Linked DNA regions of Homo sapiens: regions 1, 2, 3, 4 and 6 are each linked to region 5. Evidence: promoter capture Hi-C in 16 types of primary human blood cells and fetal thymus (Javierre and others, 2016). All regions are on one chromosome and are shown on one strand. The core of a region is centred on a gene start or on the middle of the fragment in contact, and the rest is flanking DNA. Distances in the headings are between cores, read along the strand shown.

The links. The method cuts DNA at HindIII sites, captures the fragments that hold promoters and counts their contacts. A CHiCAGO score of 5 or more calls a contact.
Region 1: a fragment that was not itself captured here is called in contact with the fragment with the promoter of PLK3 in region 5 in 9 of 17 cell types (megakaryocytes, naive CD4 T cells, total CD4 T cells and 6 more); the score reaches 9.0 in megakaryocytes.
Region 2: a contact is called between a fragment that was not itself captured here and the fragment with the promoter of PLK3 in region 5, in 10 of 17 cell types (fetal thymus, naive CD4 T cells, erythroblasts and 7 more). The highest score is 13.4, in fetal thymus.
Region 3: the fragment with the promoter of HPDL here is called in contact with the fragment with the promoter of PLK3 in region 5 in 1 of 17 cell types (erythroblasts); the score reaches 5.3 in erythroblasts.
Region 4: a fragment that was not itself captured here is called in contact with the fragment with the promoter of PLK3 in region 5 in 1 of 17 cell types (total B cells); the score reaches 5.6 in total B cells.
Region 6: a contact is called between a fragment that was not itself captured here and the fragment with the promoter of PLK3 in region 5, in 3 of 17 cell types (fetal thymus, total CD4 T cells and naive CD4 T cells). The highest score is 7.4, in fetal thymus.

Annotation. Positions count from the first base shown.
Region 1 is chr1:45,343,865-45,346,564 of GRCh38, reverse strand. TESK2 (testis associated actin remodelling kinase 2) reads left to right here. Exons shown (of 11, transcript NM_007170.3): 10 at 571-688; 11 at 1,007-2,682. The coding sequence ends at 1,725. TOE1 (target of EGR1, exonuclease) reads right to left here. Exons shown (of 8, transcript NM_025077.4): 8 at 2,592-2,700. Among named protein-coding and RNA genes, the nearest start is that of TOE1, 5.0 kb to the right of the region's middle. The HindIII fragment of the contact is 6,722 bases long and covers 1-2,700 here.
Region 2 is chr1:45,519,822-45,522,521 of GRCh38, reverse strand. It overlaps PRDX1 (peroxiredoxin 1), which reads left to right and starts at 638. Exons shown (of 6, transcript NM_181697.3): 1 at 638-693. RefSeq lists an enhancer at 160-239 and a silencer at 1,282-1,444. The HindIII fragment of the contact is 543 bases long and covers 1,038-1,580 here.
Region 3 is chr1:45,325,536-45,328,235 of GRCh38, reverse strand. HPDL (4-hydroxyphenylpyruvate dioxygenase like) reads right to left here and starts at 1,341. Exons shown (of 1, transcript NM_032756.4): 1 at 1-1,341. The coding sequence starts at 1,087. RefSeq lists enhancers at 130-239, 1,000-1,249, 1,260-1,309. The HindIII fragment of the contact is 11,997 bases long and covers 1-2,700 here.
Region 4 is chr1:45,362,235-45,364,934 of GRCh38, reverse strand. The region is part of intron 4 of TESK2 (testis associated actin remodelling kinase 2); the gene reads left to right. Among named protein-coding and RNA genes, the nearest start is that of TOE1, 23 kb to the right of the region's middle. The HindIII fragment of the contact is 2,207 bases long and covers 182-2,388 here.
Region 5 is chr1:44,798,999-44,801,698 of GRCh38, reverse strand. PLK3 (polo like kinase 3) reads right to left here and starts at 1,322. Exons shown (of 15, transcript NM_004073.4): 1 at 1,026-1,322; 2 at 752-859; 3 at 547-663; 4 at 1-77. The coding sequence starts at 1,235. RefSeq lists enhancers at 646-695, 1,466-1,855, 1,906-1,965, 1,650-2,318 and a silencer at 1,086-1,365. The HindIII fragment of the contact is 10,835 bases long and covers 1-2,697 here.
Region 6 is chr1:45,586,599-45,589,298 of GRCh38, reverse strand. All of the region lies in intron 1 of NASP (nuclear autoantigenic sperm protein), which reads right to left. Among named protein-coding and RNA genes, the nearest start is that of NASP, 3.9 kb to the right of the region's middle. RefSeq lists enhancers at 1-470, 471-971. The HindIII fragment of the contact is 7,555 bases long and covers 1-2,700 here.

The sequences.
Region 1 (2,700 bases), core at 71-2,570, 540 kb before region 5:
ACACCTCCTCCTCCTCCCTCTGGCAGCTAACCTATTCAGAGCTCTGGACAAAGGAAAGAAAGAAGTTGTTTTGTATTATCTGGTCCTCAACCTGTAGGGTAGACCCATCACTCCTTGCGTTAGGTGTTGATGGAACTCTGGTCCGGTTTTATTGTTGGACTGTGGATCCAACTGGTCCTGAGGCATATGAGAAAGGCTCTTCTTGGCCTTCATGTATGTAGCTCTGGGGCTGGACCTTACCTGTTAGGATCAAGGGGTAGGTGGGCTTTGTTCAGATACCTCCCAGAAACACATTAGGAGCAGAACTCAAGAACAGAATAAACTAATATGAGCATACTTTTGGAAGGTTCTGTGACAAGGTGATAAGACAAACACTAAGACAGGGAGGGTAGTAGACAGTAGTGTTTTCCCTGACCTGAACTGTAGGGATCACCTTCATTGTCTGGGGCCTTTAGAAAAGGTCTCTCAGCTGCACATCTGAATCTTCAAAGATGCCAGAAATAGACTCAAATGCCATCTTTGGGGTGGGAGATGGAGGGCAGAGCTCATGGCTGTTGTGGATACCTACAGATGGATCCCAAACTGCGCCCATCTTTTGTGGAGATTGGGAAGACCCTGGAGGAAATTCTGAGCCGCCTACAGGAAGAAGAGCAGGAGAGGGATAGGAAGCTGCAGCCCACAGCCAGGGGTAAGAGATTAGACCAGGGAGCCCAACCTAACCCTAAGGGAGGAAATTCGGATGTGGGGCCTTCTCCTCTTAGGGTTGTGATTGCCAGGATCCCAGGTCCAGAAACAAATGGGAGGGGAAGGAGATGATGCAGAAAGTACTGGCCTTTTTAAGAGCTGTGGCTTGGCATACTGCTTCCCCTCTCTGAGTCTGTTTCTTCATTGGTAAAACAGGGCCATGGTATCAGCTTTGCTTTCATGAGTGAAAACATTCTGTGGTAAAATGCTGCTTGTATTTGTTATGACTAGTGAGAGTAACCCAGACTTGATTATTCTTCAGGACTCTTGGAGAAAGCACCTGGGGTGAAGCGACTAAGCTCACTGGATGACAAGATCCCCCACAAGTCACCATGCCCAAGACGTACCATCTGGCTGTCTCGAAGCCAGTCAGATATCTTTTCCCGTAAGCCCCCACGTACAGTGAGTGTCTTGGACCCATACTACCGGCCACGAGATGGTGCTGCCCGCACCCCCAAAGTCAACCCTTTTAGTGCTCGCCAGGACCTCATGGGGGGCAAGATCAAGTTTTTTGACCTGCCCAGCAAGTCTGTCATCTCTCTGGTATTTGACCTGGATGCACCAGGGCCCGGAACTATGCCCCTGGCTGACTGGCAGGAGCCCCTGGCCCCACCTATTCGCCGGTGGCGTTCCTTGCCTGGTTCGCCTGAGTTCTTGCATCAAGAGGCTTGTCCATTTGTGGGCCGGGAAGAATCGCTATCTGATGGGCCCCCACCACGCCTAAGTAGTCTCAAGTACAGAGTTAAAGAGATCCCACCATTCCGGGCATCTGCCCTACCAGCTGCTCAAGCCCATGAGGCTATGGACTGCTCCATTCTCCAGGAAGAAAATGGTTTTGGGTCCAGGCCCCAGGGGACCAGTCCATGCCCTGCGGGTGCTTCTGAGGAGATGGAGGTAGAAGAAAGGCCAGCAGGCTCAACTCCAGCCACCTTCTCCACCTCAGGCATAGGCCTGCAAACCCAGGGAAAGCAGGATGGGTGAGGGGGTTTAGTCCCTGCCTCACCTTGGGGATGGACCTTCAGCTGAAACCATATGGCCCCCTAGGTGCACAGCCTTGATTCTTCCCTGGAGCCTACAGAGCAGGCAGGCTAGGCCAAGCCAGGCTCAACTTCTGGGCTCCCAGTGCCCATTGGCTGTGTATGACGGGAGGCAGCAGTGAGAGGCCTTCCTAGTTAGGGCCAACAGCTGATACCAAGCCTCTGAAATCCAGCAAGGAGGTCTGCCTCCCACCAGACCCTCTCCAGTGTACTTCCCCAGATAGGACCAGAGGATGTCTAGTTCTAGGCTGAGCTGGCAGGCAGCTATTACCCCGGTTCTTTCCCCACCCCAGGTCTGTCTCTTGCCTTTTCTTGGGGCATATAAGCTACTGAGTGGAACATGGAGCTGATCAAGAGGCCGTAATGGTCATGGCTGTTTCCCAGACCTGAATATTGGGGTGCTTCTTGCCAGTATTCTAAGACATTTGAGTAATTGCTGTTTGCACTTACTGCATGGTCAGACCACGTCACTACATTTCTATGCAAGGGGACAGCAAGGCAGCGTGGTGGTCATGGCTCTTAGCTAACCTATTCAAAGACCTTTTCCTGTTGATTAATCTATTTTCATATTTATAAAGGAGTCTTAATGTTCTGCCCCATAAGACTTTCAACCTTGTGGTTGGGAGTGGGGCTGGTTTTGTAGGCCCTAGGGCCTGCTTCTATGTATTTATCAACATGTGATACATTCAATTGGTTAAATGGTTTATACAGGGACTGATTTGCTTCCCTTCCTGCCATGGCTGGAGCTTTGGGAACAGTCTGTCCTTACAGAGCTGCAATAAGAAATAACCAAAGATGAAGCTGGTCAAATATTTTCATAACTTGCTTCTGTTGATTTTTTTTTTTGTAAAACTTTCCCAAGACATTTTCAGACTTAAAAATAAAGTCAGTGTTACAGGTGCTGGTCAGCCTTCTTACT
Region 2 (2,700 bases), core at 60-2,559, 720 kb before region 5:
AGATTGTAAAGTCAAATTATTCATCCGGGGAGAGGATGGTCGTGTAACTGAATCAGCCTCCCAAGATGAACTTTCCCTCTGGCGTAAGTTTAGGAGTCCTGATATTTTATTTTCCTTTACAACAGAAAGCAGCAACCCTGTAATTAAAGAGAACAATGAAGGAAGCTATCTAAGCCATGAGGGTTACTGAGGATCTGCGCTGGGGTTAAGGCTGCGAACTTAAGAAATATTTGGATAGACAGTTCTCATGGCTTGGTGTGGTTAGACGTGGTCCTCCGTGGGCAGCAGCTAAGACGCTTACTCCAGTTTGGGCATTGAGGGCACAGTGCGTAGTGGTCCTGGAAGTAAAGAGAATCCTGGTTTTCCGCAGAGATCTAGGATTAACCTAAGCGTTCGGGTTCGGGAGCGGCCACAAGGGCGCCTCACTCCAACCTCAGCCATCCGCAACAGGGTGGGGTATTAGTATTTTTCCGCACCCGCCCCAACGAGGGAAAGCGCCGAGTCATTCCGGCGGGGCGCGCCGGGCGGGGCTCGGGCCACATCCCCCTCCTCTCTCTCCTCCTCCGGCACCCCCGTCCGTTCCGACTCTCGCGAGATCCCTACTGGCTATAAAGGCAGCGCCCCGGAGAGCTCTTGCGCGTCTTGTTCTTGCCTGGTGTCGGTGGTTAGTTTCTGCGACTTGTGTTGGGACTGGTGAGTGTGGGCAGTGCGGCCCCTGCGGAGTGAGGCGCGGCGCGCCCTTCTTGCCTGTTGCCTCTTCCTCCTCCTGTCCGGGGCCCGCCCGCGCTCGGGTGGGGGTGCTGTGATGCGTGAGGCAGCCGGGGGAGGCCCGGAGTCCGAGACTGCTTGAGCGCTGCGCACACCCCTCTCGTGGGCCCCCCACGTAGGTGCGGGAACCTGGTTGAACCCCAAGGCAAGCGTGGACTCGAGTCGAGTCTTCCCCCGGCAACTCGAGCACGTGGCGCGGCGTCTGGGCGGGCTGGTGGTGGGGGTCTCCGAGACTAGCCTCCTGCCGGACGGGGTGGGTTCGGGAAGCTTCTGGAATGGACCTGTATCCAGACTCGTGGCTGTAGAAGACAGCCTCTATGTATTTGGCTGTTCCGGGTCCTGAGCCTTGACTAGCTGCGGAGCTTCGGGTACCCTTTCCCCGTCTTTATTTTCCTGTACGTGGAATGGAGTTAGCGATGAGCCCAAATGTCCCCGCTGAAGCACTCTCTCTGCTGGTGCTTTCTCCAGTGCTGGGGAGGGACAGGGGGCACCTGAAGTGGGGTTTAGGGATGTGGCCCTCTACGCTGGGCAGATCCCCTGAAGGGGCCCGGTGGCGGCCTGAATCCCAGCAGCCTTTACCCCGAATTGGTTGGGTTTTGTACTTGGGGGCCACTTGGGAAAGAAGGATTGGACGAGAAGGCCATTTGGGGGCACCAAGTTGCAGCATGCCTTAGTTTTTGGTTTTTGTTTTTTGTCGTTAAAGGTGTTAAGGACTTTTTAAAAAACAGTTAAAAGTTTGCTAAGATCCATGCTTACAAAATTTCTTTTGCTTGTGGTATTGTGAACTAAGAACTTTGGGACTTGGAAAAGCTTTCAGACCGCGGCTTAGTGGGTTAAATCTCTGTTTTTTGAGCTAGAGTCTCGCTCTGTCGGCCAGGCTGGAGTGCAGTGGCGCGGTCTCGGCTTACTGCAACCCCTGTCTCCCGAATTCAAGCAATTCTTCTGCCTCAGCCTTAGGAGTAGCTGGGATTACAGGCTTGTGCCACCAAGCCCCGGCTAATTTTTGTATTTTTTTTTTTTTTTTTTTTTTGAGACGGAGTCTCGCTCTGTCGCCCAGGCTGGAGTGCAGTGGCTGGATCTCGGCTCACTGCAGCCTCCGCCTCCCGGGTTCACGCCATTCTCCTGCCTCAGCCTCCCGAGTAGCTGGGACTGCAGGCGCGTGCCACCACCCCCGGCTAATTTTTTGTATTTTTGTTAGAGACGGGGTTTCACTATGATGGCCAGGCTGGTCTCGAACTTCTGACCTCAGGTGATCTGCCTGCCTCGGCCTCCCAAAGTGCTGGGATTACAGGCTTGAGCCACAGCGCTTGGCCAAGATCTCAATACTAATCTTGGTGTTGATCTGGGTGAATCCAGTGCAACCTTCCTTTTCAGCAGTAAATTGATTCTTATACTTGTTTTCGCCCTGGGATATTAGCCCCAAAGTCAGGAACCCACCTTCACAAATGGTGAAGGGAATTCTAGGGCTTACACAATACCTAAAGATTTGAAATTAAGCAGATGCCAATCAATATCTTGGTCTTGCCTCTTTTTTTTTTTTTTTTTTTTGGAGACAGAGTCTCACTCTGTTGCCCAGGCTGGAGTGCAGTGGCGCGATCTCAGCTTACTGCAACCTCTGCCTCCCGGGTTCAAGTGATTCTCCTGCTTCAGCCTCCTGAGTAGTTGCGATTACAGGCATGCACCACCACGCCCGACTAATTTTTGTGTTTCTAGTAGAGACGGGGTTTCACCATGTTGGCCAGACTGGTCTCGAACTCCTGACCCGGTGATCCGCCCGCCTGAGCCTCTCAAAGTGCTGGGATTACAGGTGTGAGACACTGCGCCCAGTGGTCTTGCCTCTTAAAAGTTGGACTGACTGGAAGGGCGCGGTGGCTCACGCCTGTAATCCCAGCATTTTGGGAGACTGAGTTGGGCAATCATCTGAGGTGAGGA
Region 3 (2,700 bases), core at 92-2,591, 530 kb before region 5:
CCTGTACGGACTGCCACAGAGCTCTGATGTTGCCCTGACCAAAGCCAGTGGCCCCCTGCCTCTGAATCAGCTCCAGGAAGAAAGTGTCCTCAGTAAAAAGGGACTTGGTGAAGACCTGAAGCAGAAACTTGCCTTTATCACCATCTAGCAGGATCCCCTGTCGAGCAAGCAGATGAGGCTCGTGCCCTGCAGCTCGGATCTGCCTCTCCTTTCCTGGCTGCTGGTAGTATGCCCCAGGGGGAGCCAGGAACTGGCCTCCAGCAGTTGCCACCCCCTCAGTGGCCTCCACAATGTTAGGCGTATACAGCCCCACGTGCTGCAGGCCTGGCCCCTTGTGCCGGGCCAGGAACTGCTCCACCTGGTCCTGTCGTGTCGTCGCCCCCGGAAGGGACTCAGCCAGAACAAGAGTGGGGACAATGCTGCCCGGCTGGGCCTGCAGGGCTGTAAGCCTCAGTCCCCCAAGCCCAAACCCTGCTGTCATTTCGAGGCCCAGCTCGGGATCCTCACCTGGGCTCAGCGGCAAGTGGCAAAAGCCCAGGCAGTCGTGGAACCAGCGCAAAAGTGTGGGGGAGCTGCCGGGGGTGCAGGCCAAGGTCAGGTGGTCCACGCGGCTGACCCACCCGGGGCCAGGCGCAGAGGACACGGGCCTGAAGCCGGGTAGGAAGGGTCCGCGGTAGCCAGCGCGCTCCAGCAAGGTCAGGCTGAGGATGCCGGCAGGCGAGCTGACCACGGCGTAAGTGGCGGCACCCTGCGCGTCCCGCACGCGAACGGGAGGGACAGGCACGCTGCAGCCCAGCGCTGCCAGCTCCCGGGTTGCAGCGCCGGCGTCCGCCACGTCGAAGCACAGGTTTGTGGCGCTGGGCACGGCGTGACGCGGATCCAGGCCGTACAGCGGCTCTCCAGACCCTGCGCCCTCGTTCACCAAAAAGACCGCGTCGCCGCTGCGCAGGGCTAGCTGCCGCCAGCCGTCCACCTCCCGCGAAGCCAGGGGCTGGAAGCCGAAGAGGCGCTGCAGGTTCCGGGCTAGGGGCTGCCCGGCGGGCACGTGGAAGGCGATGTGGCACAAACGAAGGGCGGGCGCGGCCATGGCGCTCTGGACGGCGACCTAGACTTGTCCTTCTGGGGCCGCTTACTTGTGGTTGGGGACTTCGGGGCTCTCAGTCCTGGGCTGATCGTCCGGAGTTGGGGAGTCCGGCTCACCCCGCAGAGCGCGTTCCTCGCTTTCTTCCGGAAAGAAGTCACCCGCCGACCCCTGAGAGCTCGCGGTTCTCCCTGCAGCGCCACCCCAGCCAGGAGCAGCGTCTGGACCACCGGGTCTCAGTGAGCCGAGCTGCTGGTTGTGAGAACCACGCGGTGCCTGTGCTCGCGCCAAGCAGGAGAAAGAGGGCGGAGCCCGTGACTCCGCCTTTGACTCCCCACCCCCTCCCCCACACCCTGTCGCCTCGGATACTGCGGGGTCGCCGCGCTGCTCTTTCCCCGGGCCTCACGCCTGGTCACATCCTTGGGCACTGAGCCTCCCTTCCCCAGCCCAGGAACTCACAATGGCTGCCTTCACTCGGCGCCAGGCACTGGGCTCCCACTCATCCCCCCAACCTCACAGCGAAGGGACTCAGCCCGGGTTCAGGGAAAGAGTTGGAATTCTCTCTCCACAAGCACGGAATTTTTTAGCACTTTCATGTTTTTTCTTTAAGTTCTGGAGTTTGCCTCTAAGTCTTAATGTTCCCTGGAATACACACACACACACACACACACACACACACACGTTTATATGTTTTGAGACAGGGTCTCACTCTGTCACCCAGGCTGGAGTGGCACAATCACAGCTCACTGCAGCCTCCACCTCCTGGGTTCAGGCGATTTTCCTTGCCTCAGTGCACAAATAGCTGGGACCACAGGCGGACGCCACCACACCCAGCTAATTAAAAATAATTTTTTTTTTTAGAAATGGGGTCTTGCTATATTGCCCAAGCTGGTTTTAAACCCCTGGGCTCAAGCCATCTTTCCACCTCAGCCTCCCAAAGTGTTGGGCAATCTCTCAACCAGTCCTGTCTCTTTCTTCAATCACCCTTCTGTCAACATCATTTAACCCCTTGTCCCAAGCAAGATTTGGAGGAAAAATCTGACGGTTCGGGATCTGAAAGGAACAGCTGCCTGGCTGTCATTCCCCTTCCCCATCCTTTGAGGACTGGAACACAGGCCCTCCTTGCTCTTTGCAGCTTCCTGACTTGGCATTGAGCCAGAGATTTCTGTGGTGGGGGCACTTCTGGCTCTGAAACCCAGAATTGTGTGAGATGACTGGATTGAGGAATTTGTAGTCTTCTGGAACTTCAACTGAGTGGCCCTTGAAGGGTTAGGGAAGGGCATCCAAGAAGGGCAAAGGGCATAAGCAAAAACTCAGTAAGAGTGTGAGCCAGACTCTTAGAGGAGCAATGGGCCATGCTGTTAGGGAGGCATTTAGGATGAATGCCACAGTCCAAGGCATCACAAGAAATTTTTTTGTCAGGCAGCCTGATCTACTGGGTTTCATTGGCAAGAGGGAGAAGGATGTCATAGGGGACAGGGGCTAGCTGGATGTCATGGTGTTCAGGCCTGCAGGCAGGAGGGCAGTACCCAGGAGCTGGTCAGGGTGGTAAAAGGTACTTGGTGCTACTCTGCAGACCAGTGAATGTGAGGACATGAGTTCCAAAAGCCAGACGGACC
Region 4 (2,700 bases), core at 36-2,535, 560 kb before region 5:
TGGCTGTTTGACATTGATACTGGTTTCTGACAGGTTTCTGACTTACTGATGGCACATTGAGTCATTTAAGATTCTGAAATCTTTTTCCATTGCTGTCTGAACCTTTCAATTTGGAATCTCTGAGATGTCTTTGACTCTTTTTCCTTATTTCTCATATCTATCACTCAGTTGCTAAAAAGCTTTATATTCTGACTATAGCCAACTTTTTCTTGCCCATAAATAGCACTGTTAGTTAGATGTTTGGTCACCTCTCATCTGGCTGTTGCAGTACCCTCCAAAACTGCCTCTAATTCCTTCTCTATCCTGCTACCAGAATGATCTTTCTAAAATGCAGTTTGGGTCATGTATTAGTTTCTTAGAGCTGCCATAGCAAAGCACTACAATGTGGGTGACATAGCAGAAACTTATTATCTCAGAGTTCTGAAGGCTGGAAGTCCAAAATCAAAGTGTTGGTAGGGCCTTGTTCTCTCTGAAGGCTCTACGGGAAGATCCTTCTTGCCTTTTCCTAGCTTCTGGTAGGTTTTTGGTGTTCTTTGGCTTGTAGATGTCTCAGTCCAATTTCTGCCTCTATCTTAACATGACATTTTCCCTGTGTGCCTATATCTCTTGCCACTCTTTTTATAAGGATTCCAGTCGTATTGGATTAAGGGCCTGCCCTACTCCAATGTGACCTCATCTTAACTTGATTACATTGGCAAAGACCCTATTTCCAAATAAGGTCACATTTATAGTTACCTTACCAGGGTTTAGGACTTGCATGCATCTTTTGGGGGGATGTAATTCAACCCCCATTAGATCATATTATACCTTTACCTATAAACCTTCAGTGGCCCCTGTGGTCTGCTGAATTAACTGTAGATGCTTCATCTTGGTATTCCAGAACTTCTGCACTAATAACAAATATAATAATAATAATAGAAATAGTCATAACTGACATATTGAGCACTTTCCTTGACATTATTCTTAGCATTTTACATGTATCAACTTACTGAATCTTCACAACAACTCTGTGGGTTAGGCACTATTATTATTCCCATTTTATAGATGTGTATTAAACAAACTGAGTAACCAACTCAGGGCTCTACAACTATTATAGTCTGAGATGAGATTCAATCCTAGCCAGCCTAACTGCAGTCACCACTATATTATACTGCCCATCTTAACTTTTTAGCTTCATACTTTCTCCCCTACTTATACAGAAAAAAAAAAAAGAATAATTACTAATCTCTGTGCTTTGTTATCTTTGTGTTCCTTTTGCATAGACTGTCTTTCTTATCCCCAACCCTGCCTATGGGTTACCATGAAATGGAATTAAATCCTCAACAATGAGTGAATATTAGCCAGGCCTAGGTGGGGAAAGGGGAAGGATATTAGAGGTAAAGGGACCAGCAATGTGTACAAATGTGCAGGTGAGCAGGAGTCAGACTTTTATAAGCAGGAGTGAAAGGCTTTGTGTGCCTTTCTAAGGATTGTGGGTTTTATCCTACAAGTAATAGCACATCACTGAATAATTTTAACAGGAGAGTGGCTTCAGGTTGGCATTTCAGAAAGATTGTCTTGGCTATATTGTGGAAAATGGATTGGAATGAGGGCTAAATCTTTTCAAGATGCAAAAGGGGGCAAGAAAACAGGTTAGAAAGCTAATGGAATAACCTAAGGGAGGCGTGAGAATGATAAGTTATTGATAGTGGGTTCTACCTGTTGTAAAAAATGAAAATAAATTTTAAAAAGATACTGTTAAATGGGAGAATGAGTTGTGTACTATGAGCTAAACACCAAACTGGACTGACTTTGTATTTAGACCTTATCTCTTTAATTACTCCTTGCCTTTGAACAAACACCAAATCTTGCTGATTCTACCTCTAATGTCTCTGAGATAATAACCTCCTTTCCATTCTTGCTGCCATTGTCTTATTCAGGCCTTGGTTATCCTAACTCTTCTCCCAGCCTCAGTTCCTGACCTTTTCATACAATTTTTATACTACTGTTAGAATATTTCTATGTAGCATATCTGATCATGTTATTCTCCTGTGTGAAAAAAAAAAAGTGTTAGTTGATTGTATGGCATCCCTACTAGACCATCTAGGCTAGACTAGTCTCTGTGGGCAGAGACTGGCCCCATTTATCTTTGTGTTTCACATTGTAGGTTTTCAGTGTTTGGGTAGGTGAACAGAAGGATGGATGAATCTTTCTCAGTACCATGTTGCTAATTAGATGGTAGCAAATTATCTCTGCTAGTTAGATGACAGCACAGTTATCTTCTTTGGGTAAATGCCCTAACTCCTGGCCAGTTGGGTAGATTTTTCAAAAAGGAATAATAATTCTTAGAGTTGATATTTTCTCCAGACCTTCTCTGAATGCCTTTGAACCACTGTTCAGAGATAAGCTTATTTGGTTGCAGGTATCAGTACACTGGTAATTCAAATTTTTTTAAAACTACCATTTTGTCTTATTGTTCTGAATAGTTATAATTGGTTGAAACTACTGTAGCTGACTAGAATCAGCAAGAATTGGGAACTGGAGTCCTGGGTGCATTTACCTCAGAGAGAGGTACATATTCCCTAGAGCCAGTCCAGAATATTCTCTGTATGGATATGTTTATGTGCTTGTCTGTGCCTGAATTGGTACCTACCAGACCCTATAGGGATATGTGGGAAGAACCTATACTCTTTAGCCTAGGCAGTTGTCTTAGTCCATTTA
Region 5 (2,700 bases), core at 73-2,572:
GAAAGGATCTGCCGCAGGTAGTAGCGCACTTCTGGCTCCAACAGGGTGTGCCGGGCCTTCCAGATGTGGGCCAGGGACTGCAGAGAGCCACTGCCTCAGCCCCTGGTGAGCCCTCCCTCCCCCTCCCCCTCCATCTGTGCTCCCTGAGGAAGAAACAGGGCCCCAGCTTTGGGTCTTAAGACTGTCTTCTCGGCTGGGTGTAGTGGCTCACGCCTGTAATCCCAGCACTTTGGGAGGCCAAGGCAGGTGTATCACAAGGTCAGGAGTTTGAGACCAGCCTGACCAACAGGGTGAAACCCTGTCTCTACTAAAAATACAAAAATTAGCCGGGCGTGGTGGTGCATGCCTGTAATCCCAGCTACTCAGGAGGCTGAGGCAGGAGAATTGCTTGAACCCGGGAGGCAGAGATTGCAGTGAGCCGAGATCGCGCCACTGCACTCCAGCCTGGGCAACAGAGCAAGACTCCATCTCAAAAAAAAAAAAAAAAAAAAAAAAGACTGTCTTCTCTCCCTCACTCTCATCCCTGCGGGAATCACCATCTTTCACCTTTCGGCTGCAGAGCTCCAAGAAAATGTAGATGTTGTCAGCGTCCTCAAAGTGGTGCGAAAAACGCACGATGTGGCGGTGCTGCAGGTCTCGGTGCAGCTCAATCTCATTTAGGATCTGCGATGAGGGCGCGGAGTCGTCATCCTTCCATGGTTCCCATGCCACCGTCCCCACCCCACCCCTCGCCCGCTGAGCCTGGACCCACCTTCTCGCGCTGATGCGGCTTGGCGACGCGGCTCTGCGGGATGACTTTGACAGCGTAGGCGCTGCCAGTCTCTGTGTCAGTGGCCTCGTAGCAGCGGGCGAAGCCCCCCTGTGAAGAGGGGGCATCAGGCTGGTTGTTCCAGGGGGGCCGAGTCTGGCCCGCGGGCGTCCCCGCGTTGGGGGTCAAGTGCCCACGCCCTGCTCGGCGCCAGAAAAGAGGCCGGCCGGGACCCCCACCTCCACCATCACCACCCCGCGGACGTCCCTCGGCCCACCTTGCCCAACAAGCGGCCTTTGAGGTAGGTGCGGCCGCTGCGCGGGTCCGTGATGAGGCGCCCGGGGTCTGACGTCGGTAGCCCGGCCAGCATCTCCAGCTCAGGTCCGCGCAAGGCACTCGGAGGCGGCCCGGGCCCGGCCGGGGGAGCGGGCGCGGCGGCCGCACGCTGGAAGGGGCGCGGAGACAGGAAACCGGCGGCAGGCTCCATGCGGCCGGCGCGTCGCAGCGCGGTCCCGGCTTCTCGGTTCCGCCCGGCCCCGGCCGCGCGTGGCGCTGCCTGGATTTGCTACGCTGCGCTGGCGCCCAGGGGAGCCCAGCGTTTTATCAATGAACGCCTGCCCCCTCCCCGGCGTCTGGTCACCGAGAGTCCCGCCCCCTTCCTAGCAGCGAGTCGAGGAGAGGCCACTCCCATTCCCGGCCTTACATCACCCAGAAGCTCCTCCCCCACCCAACGCACTGCCAGACCCCGCCTCCTCGCCGCGCCCCGGGGCGCAGCCCGGCAGCTAGTCACCATGCAGGTGCAACCAGGCCGCAGGGGCCAGCTGATCCCTGTCCGCCTCTCACCCCTCCTTGGCCACTGCGAGTCCCGCTCGTGGGGGCCTCTTTCTTTCCCCATCCTTCGGGATGTGTGCTGAAGTCCGAGTGGGGCCCGGGCATCTGGGGGCGTCTCCCCAGCAACTAGATAGATCAGCGTTCCAGCCAGCAGCGGAGAGGCAGGGGCGGCGCTCGCTTTTGCCCGGGCATGTTACCCGACACTCCCCTTTCAGTGTGCCGGACCGCGTGTGTCCCTCGCCCTCGCCCGGGGCCCGGCCCAGTGCTGCCCTCTTTAGGGCCTGGAAGGAAGGCACAGTCTCGCGCCTGGCTTGCCTGGCCCGAGGGCTGCCTTGCCAGGTTTAGGAGTCAAGCAGAGTCTGGAATTTCAAGGCTTTTACCATGCTCCAGGCCACATCTTCCGCTACCCACTTCTACACTCTTGAGGGGCAAATTTCGGGTTCCTCCGGGGTCCGCAATTCCCTTCCTCTGAAAATACCCCCGGGCCTGGGTCAGCAGCCAGAGGCCAGAAAGTGAATGGGAATTGGATTTTCTTTTTTCTTTCTTTCTTTCTTTTTTTTTTTTTTGAGACAGAGTTTCGCTCTTGTTGCCTAGGCTGGAGTGCAATGGCGCGATCTTGGCTCATCGCAAACTCTGCCTCCCAGGTTCAAGCGATTCTCCTGCCTCAGCCTCCCGAGCAGCTGGGATTACAGGCATGCGCCATCACACCCGGCTAATTTTGTATTTTTTTTTTTTTAAGTAGAGACGGGGTTTCTCCATGTTGGTCAGACTGGTCTGGAACTCCCAACCTCAGGTGATCTACCCGCTTCGGCGTCCCAAAGTGCTGGGATTACAGGCGTGAGCCACCTTGCCTGGCTGGGAATTGCATTTTCTCAAATGCTAGACACGGGCACTTGGGCAGCTAGTCTCTGGACCACGTGGACCCCTAGACCCCTGCGCAATGCCCACCCTTCCCAGGGCCAGAGACAGAGGCCCAGGACCACAGGCCTCCTGGCCTTGTCTCTCACCTCTCTGCCCTCCCTCTGTGCCAGCCAATCAATTACCATGCCATTCCTCAAAGATTTATTGAGAGCATCTGCTAAGTGCTGGACACTATCTCGAATAAAACTAATCAAGCTTGC
Region 6 (2,700 bases), core at 49-2,548, 790 kb before region 5:
AAAATGAGATGGGCATGGTGGTACATGCCTGTAGTCCCAGCTACTCCAGAGACTGATATGGGAAGATTGCTTGAGCCCAGGAGATAGAGGCTGCAGTGAGCTATGATCATACCACTATACTCTAGCCTGGGTGAGAGAGTAAGACCTTGTTTCAAATAAATAAACAAACAAACCAGAAACCATAGGATATTGACAGATTCTACTCCATCTAATTCATTTCACAAAAGGTTAACTTAGCAAATATACATAGAATCTTAGTCAACAGGATAAAAAAGCCCAATGGGAATAGATTAATGGATTTAATATAAACACTCACAAACAAACAAACAAACAAACAAACACTTGACCACCTGCTACTGCTCATTCTTTTGTTTTTGAGACGGAGTCTCGCACTGTTGCCCAGGCTGGAGTGCAGTGGCGCGATCTCGATCTCGGCTCACTGCAAGCTCCGCCTCCCGGGTTCACGCCATTCTCCTGCGTCAGCTTCTCAAGTAGCTGGGACTACATTTTTTTTTTGTATTTTTAGTAGAGATGGGGTTTCACCGTGTTAGCCAGGATGGTCTCGATCTCCTGACCTCGTGATCTGCCCACCTCGGCCTCCCAAAGTGCTGGATTACAGGTGTGAGCCACCGCGCCCGGCCGCTCATTCTTAAGAGAAACAAAAAAACTATACTTAGAAAGTATGTTTTACCCATCGAATAGTCAAAGATAGGGTTAAGGAGAAATTGTACTCCCATACATTGCTAACAGAAATTCAAGGCTAGGCTCACAGCTATAATCCCTGCACTTTGGAAGGCAGAAGGACTGTTTGAGGCTAGGAGTTTGAGACCAGGCTAAGCAGCAAAATGAGACCCCTTCTCTAGTTCAAAAAATTAATTTTAAAAAAAGAAGTGTAGCCTGGGCACGGTGGCTAACGCCTATAATCCCAGAACTTTGGAAAGGCAAGGTGAGTGGATCACCTGAGGTCAGGAGTTCGAGACCAGCCTGGCCAACATGGTAAAACCTCATTTCTACTAAAAATACAAAAATTAGCCAGGTGTGGTGGCGGGCGCCTGTAATCCCAACTACTTGGGAGGCTGAGGCAGGAGAATTGCTTGAACCCTGGAGGTGGAGACTGCGGTGAGCCTAGATCGCACCAGTGCACTCCAGCCTGAGCAACGGAGTTAGACTCTGAATGACTACAGTCATGCGCAACCACGCCTGGCTGATTTTTGTATTTTTAGTAGAGACGGGGTTTTGCCATGTCAGCCAGGCTGGTCTCGAACTCCTGGCTTCAAGTGATATGCCCGTGTTGGCTTCCCACAGTGTTGGGATTACCACGTGAGCCACACCACCTGGCCCTTTTTTTTTTGAGATGGAGTCTTGCTCTGAGGCTAGAGTGCAGTGGCACAATCTCGACTCACTGCAACCTCTGCCTCCCGGTTTCAAGCGATTACAGGACCCTGCTACCCATGCTCGGCTAATTTTTGTAAACTGTAGTCTCAGCTACTTGGGAGGCTGATGCACAAGAATCGCTTGCACAGGGGAGGCAGAAGTTGCAGTAAGCCAAGATCTGGCCACTACACTCCAGCTTGGGCAAGACAACAAGACTCTCTCTCCAAAAAATTAATTATATATATATATATATATATATATATGAAAAAACTCAAGACAAACCTCATAGCCTAGAAATGTTGAATTAACAAAATGTATGTAATCAATGCATAAAAGATATGTAGGTACTAGTCTTCTTCACTACCATAAAATACAAATTATAAAAAGTTAAAATTCATCAAAACACACAGACCATACACGGCACCATCCACAGTTGAGATATGTAAATGAACAAAGATGCAGTATTAAATCATAACTGCAGCCGGGCACGGTGGCTCACGCCGAGACCGGCTGATCACCTGAGGTCAGGAGTTCGAGATCACCCTGGCCAACATGGCAAAACCCCAAAAAATTAGCCAGGTGTGGTGGTACACACCTGCAGTCCCAGCTACTTGGGAGGCTGAGGCAAGAGACTTGCTTGAATCCGGGAGGGCGGAGGTTGCAGTGAGCAGAGATTGTGCCACTGCACTCCAGCCTGGGTGACAAAACTCCCTCTCAAAAAAAAAACAACAAAAAAAAACCAACTAAGAACTAGTTAGAAAGCTAAGAATGACAGGATTAATTTAGCATGTAGATATACATCACCTTAAACAATACTGCTTTAATGGCACGAGGGGACAAAAGCCAACCTAAGACTTTTTGCAGACGACAAAACTGTGGTCCAATATCACTACTGAAGCAATGAAGCTGCTATCAAAGCCAATTCTAAGCCAGGCGAGGTGATGCATGCCTGTAGTCCCAGCTACCCAGAAGGCTGAGATGGAAGGATTGCTTGAGACTAGGAGTTGGGAATCCAGCCTGGGCAACATAGTAAGATCCTCATCTCCTAAATTTAAAAAACCTGAACTGAGGTTTATTTCTCATTCCATTTTTTTTCTTTCTACTGGTTTGGAAGTTATATTTATTCTTTCAATGGTCATCCTCGAATTATAATGTACATTCTTACCTAAAGTCTAAATTCAAGTCATTTTCTTTATCCTACCCTTAAACATGAGGACCTTATAAACTTTACCTCTAAGTGTCCCCACTAACTTACTTAACTGAGACACACTGCTTTCATGTTCTCTCACACTAATTAGATGGGGAAACGAAGAATGAAAATGAAAA